Regions from separate parts of the Homo sapiens genome. Here region 2 is linked to region 1. Evidence: promoter capture Hi-C in 16 types of primary human blood cells and fetal thymus (Javierre and others, 2016). All regions are on one chromosome and are shown on one strand. The core of a region is centred on a gene start or on the middle of the fragment in contact, and the rest is flanking DNA. Distances in the headings are between cores, read along the strand shown. Region 1 holds the start of TMEM165 (transmembrane protein 165). Region 2 holds the start of SRP72 (signal recognition particle 72).

Region 1 (5,569 bases), core at 1,016-3,515:
GCCCTGGAGTGTGGGCAGCCCATCCTAGAAAATAAACAAAGCAGCTTTCAGCAATGAGGGACACACAGCCAGTTTTGCTACATTCACCCTTCTGGCTCTGTCTTCAGCCTAAGCTGCTCCTTTCAGGTCCCTCCCTTGGGACCTCAAGCCTCCCTTTCAGGCCCCTTTTAAGCACAGCAAATCCTGTATGCATTAAGGGGAGGTAGTTGAAGTTTGGGCTTCTGGGTTTTATGTTATTACTGGCTTCTGAAAGCTCAAACATTTGCACTCCAGGGATGATAGTTGCATCTGTTAAATTTAGTGTAAAGCTGCCTCCTTACATATTTTAAGTTAGGCCTAAAGGTTTCCCCATACATGGTGAACTGTAGCCTAATTGGGTATGTAAACAGACTGTAACCTATTCTTGTACCAATCACAGAGTTCTGGCCAATCACAAGTGGCCAACTGTTCAAACCGTGTTCAAATAGGGCAAACCTGAGCTACAACCAATCCAGCTGTTTCTGTCCCTCAATTATGTTTTCTGTAAGTCACTTTATTTTTTCCGACCACTCGGCAAGACTGGAGCCTCTCTGAACTTACTTTGATTTGGGGTCTTTTTGATTTGCAGATCATTCTTTGGGTTCTTTGCTTGATTAAACGCTGTTAAGTTTAATTTGTCTAAGGTTTTTCTTTTAACACACCCCAAACTGTAAGTGGAGGCATCCTACTTACACAGTAATAGAAGAATGCATAAAGCAATAACATGAAGGAACAAGTGACAAATTCTGTAACGCCATGTGTTGGGGAAAAGTTCTGAGAGTGGAAGCTTGAATAGGTTTTGGAAGTATGAGTAGGAGTTTACAAGGAGAGAATGGAAGAAGGGGAATTACGGACAGAATAACATGGACGGAGGCCGGCCGCGGTGGCTCACACCTGTAATCCCAGCACTTTGAGAGGACGAGGCCGGCAGATCACCTGAGGTCTGGAGTTCGAGACCAGCCTGACCAACATGGAGAAACCCCATCTCTACTAAAATTACAAAGTTAGCCGCGTATGGTGGAGCATGCCTGTAATCCCAGCTACTCGGGAAGCTGAGGCAGGAGAATCTCTTGTACCCGGGAGGAGGAGGTTGCAGTGGGCCGAGATCTCACCATTGCACTCCATCCTGAGCAACAAGCGCGAAACTCCGTCTCAAAAACAAAAACAAAGAAAACAACAAAACAAAAAAACAGACGGAAATTTTATTATCCTGTGACAAACACTGTATCTTTGGTGAACTCAAAGTAGGTTTGCCCACTTTCCCACAGATTGTTTTGGTGGATTAATTTTTTGTTTCAGTTAGTGATAAACTTCCTTAGCTCTTTACTGAGTACAGGTTTACTGTATGTAAATATGTATAATATTAGATTAGTGCCTGGCACATGGTTAGCACTATCGATTTTTATTAGGGACTAGGTCTCAAACTTATGGTAATTAAGTAGCTCACTTTTTCTTTTGGGAAGACGTAAAAATATTCTCAAGCCTAACTCAAGACCATCCTTTCCTGTCTTCTAGTCTTGCCCACTCAAAGCTCCATCCTGCAAAAGTCTTAAACAGTCCATTTCAAAAGCCCAGCATTTTTAAAGGGTCTAAGGAATAGCACAAAACAAGATGCACCCAAAACGTCAAGGCCATACTGGACAAGGGCAACGTTAGCCATTTTTGGTCTGGGGTAATTATAGGCAGTATCTTAAAACAAGGCTTGAAAAATGTCATGTTATTTCCAAATCCCATTTCAGAACTTTAAAAAAAAAATAGCATTTTGAGCTCCTAAGAACGTTTTTGGCGGTAGGTGGCCACATGGAGGGTGGCACAGAGGCTCGGCGGGGGAGAGCGGAACAGAGCTGGGCGTGGCAGTGCCTGCGAGTCAGCGCCACGTAACCAGAGGCGCTCGCACTAATTTGACCTCTAAGAGAGACTAAGCGCAGGGAACAGCGGGTGCGGACATTACGGCGGAAGGCTCTGGAGGAAGCAGAAGTGAAGGACCTCGCAGTCCTGGGACGGTGGGGCACAGAGAGAGAAAGGGAGCCCCGGGCGCGGCGCGGTGAGGATGCGAGCAGAGGAAGGACACGCGGCGCCGGGTACCTGCCGGGAGCGCCGGATCCAATGGGAGGAGGGCCCGCGCCGCACCTCAACCTGGCAGAGGACGTCACGACGCCAAGGCGGTCGCCGGGCCAATGGGAGGCCGTCGCGGGCAGGGACGGGGCCGGGAGGAGTCGGGGCTGGGCCGCGCCGAGGCAGCTGGCTGACTCCAGTTTAGCCGCCGCCGGAGAGGACGGGCGCCGAGCCGGGGCTGCGGACTTCGGCCTGCCCCTCACCTCACTCCCGCTGCTTGCACCTCCCGGATGGTGCTGACTGCTCCCTAAGCGGCGGCGGCGGCGAGTCGTGAGGACGCGCCGCGGAGGCTGTTCGGGGTCGAGGCTTCCCGTCGCCGGCACTTCCTCTTGCGGCGCCCGTGCGCGGCCGGCCCGGCAGGCGGGATGGCGGCCGCGGCTCCAGGGAACGGCCGCGCATCGGCGCCCCGGCTGCTTCTGCTCTTTCTGGTTCCGCTGCTGTGGGCCCCGGCTGCGGTCCGGGCCGGCCCAGATGAAGACCTTAGCCACCGGAACAAAGAACCGCCGGCGCCGGCCCAGCAGCTGCAGCCGCAGCCTGTGGCTGTGCAGGGCCCCGAGCCGGCCCGGGTCGAGGTGAGCGGGCCGGGATGGGGCGAGCGAGGCTGCAGGGCCGGCTGCGCCGAGTACCAGGCTCCAGGCCTTTGAAAGCGCCGCACTCCGCCGGCCTCGGCTGGGGGAGGGGAGCCCGGCCCCTGCTCCCGGGGTGGAGGGCGGTCGGCTGCGCTGTTTTCCGGTGAGGCCTGGTCTTGCCCGCTCCTTTAGGGAAAGGGAGAGGGAGAGTCCAAGAGGAGCCCGCTATAAACGTTGATCTCCGGAGGGCCAAGATGCTGCTCCGGGATGGGCGTTTTATTGATCAGATGTGTCTTAGAGTAGCTAGAAAGACTCATCCCTACCAAAAAGTTTTTAACAGAAGGCTGCTAGGAGGCTTTTTGTATTCCCTGAGGATCATCACATCGGCCATTTCATTGTTGAAATAGCTTATGCCAAACTGCTTACCCAAATTCAACTTGGCACTGCCTGTGCTTTTTGCCAAATATGGATTATGAACCATGACTCTCACTTTTTAAAAATGTGCTTTGGCTAGCAGGAAGTAGCCTTTAGGAACGCAGAGGAATTAGTCTCCGGCAGTACAGCGTGCTGCAGCGATGTGGGATGCCAAAACTACATTTATAAGTAAAACAGAATCCTGTATTTTGTCCTTCCCTGAATAGATACTAGAAATCAACTTTTTAATCTGTTAATAGAATTAGTCCTTAGTCACTTGGCAGCGTTTTAACATTTCTCCCTTCTCCCAGTCGTGGGCTTTGTCGTCATTTCCAGTATCTGCTCCCTGAATCCCGGCCAGTGTGGCACTCAAACCCCCACTCCCACCCAGGCCACATCCAGCCCATCTCCACGTAACTAATCTTCCCGAACATTGAATTCTGCCATCTTGTCAGAAGTCGTCGGTGAGTTGCCTCCACTAATTTCAGTCCAGCCTTTTTAGGAGAGTGATGTTCAGGTTTCTTCTGATCTGGCTCCAGCTCACCTCCAGGCTTTTTAGCCACCGCTTTCTTGCTCATATGCTAAAGGGATATGCTCATCTGCAAAAAAGAATGTGCTTCAAGAGCCCTTTGGGACAGGCTTTGTGCTCTCTTGCCAGTTCCTCCCTAACACAAGACCTTTTCAAAGAAAAAAAAAAAAAGACCTGGAGTTTGAAGCCACGGATCAACTCTTCCCACCTTGGAGAACCAGCAGATACCTACTCTCTGTGAAGACTTCCCTAAAATTTCTTGGTTAAGGGTGATTTATCTGACCCTTTCCTTTCCTTTCCTTTCCTCTCCTTTCTCCTTTTTCCTTTCCTCTCCTTTCTCCTTTTTCCTTTCCATTCCTTTCATTTCTCCTTTCCTTTCCTTTTTCCTTTCCTTTCTCCCTTCCTTTCCTTTTTCCTTTTTCTTTGTTGAGACAGGGTCTCGCTCTGTCGCCCAGGCTGGAGTGCAGTGGCCCCGTCTTGGCTCACTGCAACCTCTAATTGATCCTCCCACCTCAGCCTCCTGAGTGGCTGGGACTGCATGCGTGTGCTGACACGCCCGGCTAATTTTTGTTTATTTTTTTTTTTTTTGAGAGAGGAGGTCTCACTATGTTGCCGAGTCTAGTCTCAAACTCCTGGGCTCAAGCGCTTCTCCGGCCTTGGCCTCCCAAGTGCTGGTGAGCTCTCACACCGGTGCATTGTTTTCGTGTTTCATGTTTTCGTTACATGTTACTTTCTTAGGCTTTTCCAATTTTCTGTTGTTTTTCTGTGTAAGACCGTAGGATAGAACTTTCTGAGAGACTGATCTTGGTTTCACTAAGCAAGAACATTTGTAAGAATCAGTGCTGTCCCAGATGTAGTAATCGCTATTGAGAAATAATGAAGTTCCCCTTACTGGAAGTACTCAGGAAGAAGTTGAATAACTAACTGCCTATGAGGAGATTCTGATATGGGAGGGAATCTGGGAGATAAAGTTACTGGGAAGTGAAGATTCTGGGAGCCGATTTAATCCTCACAACAGCACGTTAAACAGGTAGAGGAGGTTTGTAAGGAATAGTGGTTTAATATCACAGAGCTAGAAGCTAGTTTCAGCAGAACCAGAATTAGAATCTGGACTTCTGTGCCTTACTAAGTTTTATTAGCATTCATTGTGTCTTACTCTTTTGACTTATTTAATTCACTAATGGATTTTAATGGTTTATTGGATTGTATGCTGGTGCAGTTCTTTGATCTTGAGCCTAGCTTTCTCTTTCTCCTTTTTTGGGAACTTTATTGTGTATGTTGTGGCATGTTTACACACACATCTTGCTGCCTTGGGTTCTTGCAAGTTGTGTGCGTGTTTTATCTGCCCCTACTAGCTTTTAGGTGTCTTGAGAGCATGACTCTGGCTTACTCATCTGTCTATTCCAGAAGACCTTGTCTGTTCTTGGCATTTATTAACTAATTTTCTAAGACTGGGTTGAAGTAGTTGCATGTCAAGTTTATATCAGCTGTTAAATACCTTTCTGGAAAAACTGGCTGTAAAATAAACTCAACCAGGAAAAAAAAAAAAAAACAACAACCCGATTTTTAATAGTGTCTATCCAACCTTTTTTTTTTAAGTTGCAAGGGATCCACCAGATGGAATTAAGAGAACTAAGCTTTTATCATCTGCTGGATATAATGTGATTTTGTAACCATTATTGGATTGGTGTTGGTTTAGACAGTTTATTTTCAGCTGACTATATAGTTAATTCCGGGACTCTTATAAAGTTTTTTTTAAAAAGAGAAAAAGAGAAGATCAAAAGCACTGGAACTCAACGAGTAAATAACCCATGGTAACAGAGAGATATAATGCAGTGATGTCAGAGGTGTACAAGAAGTGTGAATCATTTAACATGTGAAGCCAGGGTCTTTAGTCCACTTGGGGAGAGCAAAGAGGTGAGTG
Region 2 (5,569 bases), core at 906-3,405, 1.1 Mb after region 1:
AAGTCTAAAGCTCTTCTCATGATTTTTACTAATTCACAAGAATTACACCCTCCAGCACCTAGAGTTCAAGCCACCTTTCATGCTCTTTGCATTGTATATACTGGAAGGACCAGACAAAAATATGGCAGGGCACCATATGCCATATCAGGAGCTGGGCAGTTTCTGCCCTCAAGGAACTCAAGATTAGGCAAGGAATGTGAAACAAAAAATGCCAACTATGTGCCAGGCAGTATGCTAGATCCTAGGGATACTGCAGTGAGCAAGGTAAATATGGTTCCTTGGCCTCAGAACTATAGTCCATACAGAGTGAGATAACCCTTAATTATCAGTGCTCAGAAGTGGAGTCCTATAGGGAGTCTCCCAACCTTTTTGGCACCAGGGACCGGTTTCAGGGAAGACAATCTTTCCACAGGAGTTGGACAGCTGGTTTCAGTATGATTCAAGCTCATTACATTTCCCATTAGATTCTCTTAAGGAGTGAGCAACCTAGATCCTTCACATTCCCAGTTCACAATAGGGTTTGAGCTGTGAGAAGCTAATATCACAGCTGATCTGACAGGAGCTCAGGCGGTACTGCTCACTGGCCCACCGATCACCTACTGCTGTGCCGCCCGGTTCCTAACAGGCTGCAGACCAGTACAAGGGTTGGGGACCCCTGTTCTAAGAGGATGCAACCAGAAGGCTGCCCAGTCTGCAAGATCAAATGTTTCCTCAAAGTAACTTTCAACGTATAACCAGAAAGACTGAAAGACAAAAAGTAGTTAGCAAGGCCGGGCACGGTGGCTTACGCCTGTAATCCCTGTACTTTGGGAGGCTGAGAGAGGGCGGATCACTTGAGGTCAGGAGTTTGAGACCAGCTTGGCCAACACAGTGAAACCCCATCTCTACTAAAAATTCAAAAATTAACCGGGCGTGGTGGCTCATGCTACTTGGGAGGCTGAGGCAAAAGAATCGCTTTAACCCAGGAGGTGGAGATTGCAGTGAGGTTCATCCTGGGTCACAGAGCTAGACTACGTCTCAAAAAAAAAAAAAAAAAAAAAAAAAAAAAGCTAGGTTCCTGAGGGACACAGGAAGTAGTAGAAGTTGTAAAGGTCATGACGAGATATGAGTCTGAAGAGCAGGCCATTCAATGAAATACAACATTCACATCAAGTGAATCACTCACATCGTCTTGGTGTGGTGGCTCATGCCTGTAATCCCAGCACTTGGGGAGGCTGTGGTGGGAGGATTGCTTGAGCCCAGGAGTTCCAGACCAGCTTGGGCAACACGGCAAGATCCCCGTCTCAAAAAAAAAAAAAAATCACTCACATCAAGTGTACCCAACAGATATCCATTCCCTTCGTACATCTGAACACATCTTGATATTAACGGTCGCAAGCAAACCCTAATATTTTATATCTCTAGAACAAATATAGTATCCCCATTTCACAATCGGGAAAACAGACTCCCAGAAGCTAAGTAACTTGTTTATTGTCAGACATCTAGTGAGTCGCAGAGCCAGGGAACTGACCACGGGCATTTTCACCCCATTACCCTTCCAGCTTATTGCCGACTGCTCCCGAAGGGAGCGAAAAGGACAGGCAAAGGGTTTCACCAAACCCTTTGTAATGGGAGATTCTTGCCTTCTTACCTTTCCTCACGTTTGCTTCTCTGCCAGAATGTCTTCCCGCACTTTCCCCAGAACCCAAGTTCTCCTAATCATCTTTCAAGATCCCTTTCCCTCAACCACAGATGAGCCGTGCCTATTTCTCCTTCAAATGACTCCCTATGGCTTCTAGTTGGTAGTCTTTTATTTACCACCTCATAGTCCTTTTATTTATATCCCATAAATGATCGTCCGGCCCCGCACCGTGGGACCAGGACGCTGCCTCGACCATGGCGGTCTCCTGGAAACAGGCTGCTTTGAGCCGAAACTGGTGACCGTTTCCCAACCCCGTCCAGGAGTCCGACGCCTCTTTTCTCCAGGCCAACTTCAAGTGAGGTGTATCAACTCTATCCGCACAAATTTCTTGCCACGAGAGCAGAAGATTATGATCTCTGATGCTGCCTTAGGGCTGAAGACACTCCCAACTCGGCGACGCTTAGCAATCATCGACTTCCTCCTCCTCTTGGCTGCCTCGGAGATCCTGTTCCGGGGCAGAGGTCTCCCCGCCCCGCCCCTCGTCTCCTCCAAGATGGCGAGCGGCGGCAGCGGGGGGGTGTCAGTACCTGCGCTGTGGAGTGAAGTGAACCGGTATGGCCAGAACGGCGACTTCACGCGCGCTCTCAAGACCGTCAATAAGAGTAAGTGTCGGGGTGGGCACTGGGGCGGGCCCAGGCCGGCTGGAGGATGCGGCCTGTTTCCGGCGCGCGAGACCACCTCGCGCGGGAGGCACGGGAAGGGGAGACCCCCGAAACCCCCCCGTCTATTGTCCGCCCGGCTCGGGCCCTAGCGCCCGGAAGACGCAGGTCTCACTCCTCGGCTTCACCAGGCCAGCCTGGGGTCCCTGGTTGCTTACAGCCACGTGTACTTCTCTTTTTACCCTCCGCGGGAAGCGAGGGAAGGTTTTAAAGAGACCGCAGCTCCCGGAGTCCATTTCAAACTGTTTTCTTATTTGACTCCTTTGCTGCTTTATTTCACAAATATTCCAAAGTGCCTCCTTTTCTTCTTCGTCTTGAGCGCAGTGATCAGGACTCTATTGCTGAGGGAGCTTGTTCTCTTTGGCCGCTAAAGGGGGAGGAACCTGCTTGGGACACGTAGTTTAGAGGCTGGTGCTAACCAGGTGGAAGCTGTACGGGTTCTACGGGGCGAGAGGAAAGGGCTGGATCTGGATGTCAGGCCTGTCATTCCCATAGATGAGATCTCTTCAGTGTTATTAAGTTAGGAAATATGTGTGTGGAAGCACCAACACTTGAAATAATGTCGGAAGAAAAGTTTGGCCTGTTTTTTTGCCCTGTAAGGGATGATTTCGGTTTTTACCGCCTTTGGTGTGAGGTTTAATTCATCATATTCTTTTGTTCCTTACTACATACCTGGAATATGGCCATGCTGCTTAATGTTCTCGGTGGTGCGCAGTTCTTCTCTACTGAAGATACAGCCTGTGCATGTTAGATTTGGAAATGTAATTACCAAGGCAGGGCTTAGCTGTTCAGAGTAGCAGTAACCTAAAAGGTGTGTCAGTAACATGCAAAGCTATCTAAGTAATTTTCAACACTCTAGTACTGGGTTAACGTGAAAAGTAGTGATTGTGCCCACAGTGCACTTTTGGTGATTTCAGACATTGAGGAAAATAGCTACGAATTAGAATTATTTGATCCCTAAATTTGTTTGAATTAACTCTAGCCTTCCAACCAGTACTGTATACTTAGTATAGTATTTTGCAGGAATTCTTTAATCAGCAAAGATTGTCAACTTGTTTACCAGTATGTTTTCTTAATTGGTAGAAATTCTTGTGATTCTTTGAGAATTGGACTTCTGTAGTTGCACAGGAGCAAGAGTAACTATGATCCTGGTCATTTTAACACCGAACAGTTGTTAGCGTTGAAACTTGCCACCTGAGTTCTTCCTTATACTTTGGTCATCTTAGTTGAAAAGGGGAAATTTTAATGATTTTTGGAAACGTTGCCAGCAAGATAAATTGCCTTTGTATTATACTTTATAAGATTTTTCCAAAATATTCATTTCATATTGTCAGTAACCTTATTAAATAGGTAATGCTTTTCTAATCATTTTGTAGCTAAGAAAACTGAGATTTGGCTGTTAAGTGATATGCCCAATACCTCAAAGCATTTAGTGGCAAGCTTGCACCAAACCTAGGTCATTTGCTTCCAAATTCTACCTGAACTTTTTCCCTGTGAAGTAATGAACTATGTAGAATGTAGCATGCATTTCAAGATGAAATATCTGGAGAAATTGCTTCTTTCTTCTTTATTTCACTGCACTTTTTTGGTACATGTATATTGGGAATCTTTATCTCATTGAAAATTTAATCTATAACTCTCCTTATTGTCACTTCTTAAGTTAAAAGCAAAGATTAGTTGTTTTCTGGGTTTGTTTTGTTTTGTTGCTGTTTCTTCCAGTTGTTCTGACCAATTATTTCTGTTGCAATAAAAGTAGAAATTTAGCTTTCGGAGAGACAGGGTGGGAAAATTTAGTAAAAATGTGAAAAGGAAATGGATTTAAAAATGACTTTTCCTAAAATTGTTCTCTAGTACTACAGATCAACAAAGATGACGTAACTGCCCTGCATTGTAAAGTGGTATGCCTTATCCAGAATGGAAGTTTCAAGGAAGCTTTGAATGTCATCAATACTCACACCAAAGTGTTAGCCAAGTAAGTGATTCAGTTAGTTGCTTGTACAGTTATTAGAAACACTTACTATAGCTATAATCTCTTCCATGTTTTTTCCCAACTATTTGCTGATTTTTTTTAACGTTTTTTTCCTTCCTTTTTTTCCCCCCTTTTGCTTGTCAATAATGTTTCTGAACTGGAAGGAATACTAGTAACTTCTGTTTTTTTCAGCCTTAGAGAGTTTTTTTTTTTTTTTTTAACCACTGTGTTTCCTTTGAACCGCTAAGGAGGTGAACCATAGAGAGTTGTGGGGCATAATTATGAGTCGTTGGAGGATGTAGCAAGAATAACTCAGTCGAAGTTTCTTTACTGTTATACCTAGGCTCCAAAAAAATATGTATTGAAATTAAGTTTGAAGCATATTAATGGGATACTGGTTTATAAGGTGCAGAACAATATATATTATACTTCCTTTTACAAGAGGAGGAGGATATAAAAATTTATATATGCATTTGCCTGTATTTGCAAAACAAACAGTATAAAGAGAAACAATGAATAGTCATTTGTGGGAGGCCTAAGAGGGCGGATCACGAGGTCAGGGGTTTGAGACCAGACCGAGCAATATGGTGAAACCCCATGTCTACTGAAGATACAAAAAATTAGCTGGGTATGGTGGTGTGCACCTGTATTCCCAGTTACTTGGGAGGCTGAGGCAGGAGAATCACTTGAACCCAGGAGGCAGAGGCTGCAGTGAGCTGAGATCGTGCCATTGCACTCCAGCCTGGGTGACGGGGAGACTCCGTCTCAAAAAAAAAAAAAAGTCATTTGTAGGAGGTAATAGGAACAGGTTAGATTTGGGTAGCAGTGGGAATAAAGCCTCTTAGTGTATCTCTTTTTCTTTTTATATTTGAGGCGTATAAATGTGTTAGAGATTAAAAATTAATTGTAAACTTTATTAAAAATAAAAGGGAAATAGAGGCAATGCTGCTTTTCTCCTATTAAATATGTTTGCTAAAATTCAGTCTCTTGATTTTGGGCTATTTTGTGAGAAAAGAGACATTTTCAAAAACATTTTGTCAATGAGTCTTGGATAAAAGTTTTTTTTTTTTTTTTTTGGGAGGAGTCTTGCTCTGTCGCCCAGGCTGGTGGAACCTCCACCTTCCGGGTTCACGCGATTCTCCTGCCTCAGCCTCCCAAGTAGCTGTGATTACAGATGTGCACCACCACGCCCAGCTAATTTTTGTAATTTTAGTAGAGACAGGGTTTTGCCGTGTTGGCCAGGCTGGTCTTGAACTCCTC

Evidence for each region. Contacts are between HindIII fragments. The CHiCAGO score rates a contact against its expected background, and 5 or more counts as called.
Region 2: a contact is called between the fragment with the promoter of SRP72 here and the fragment with the promoter of TMEM165 in region 1, in 1 of 17 cell types (activated CD4 T cells). The highest score is 5.2, in activated CD4 T cells.

What each region holds. Positions count from the first base shown.
Region 1 is chr4:55,393,692-55,399,260 of GRCh38, forward strand. It overlaps TMEM165 (transmembrane protein 165), which reads left to right and starts at 2,266. Exons shown (of 6, transcript NM_018475.5): 1 at 2,266-2,705. The coding sequence starts at 2,499. RefSeq lists silencers at 2,072-2,271, 2,472-2,941 and an enhancer at 4,442-4,491. The HindIII fragment of the contact is 4,477 bases long and covers 804-5,280 here.
Region 2 is chr4:56,465,462-56,471,030 of GRCh38, forward strand. It overlaps SRP72 (signal recognition particle 72), which reads left to right and starts at 2,156. Exons shown (of 19, transcript NM_006947.4): 1 at 2,156-2,283; 2 at 4,192-4,312. The coding sequence starts at 2,175. It overlaps LOC124900706 (a long non-coding RNA gene), which reads right to left and starts at 2,097. Exons shown (of 2, transcript XR_007058126.1): 1 at 1,631-2,097. RefSeq lists an enhancer at 2,001-2,210. The HindIII fragment of the contact is 5,513 bases long and covers 1-3,778 here.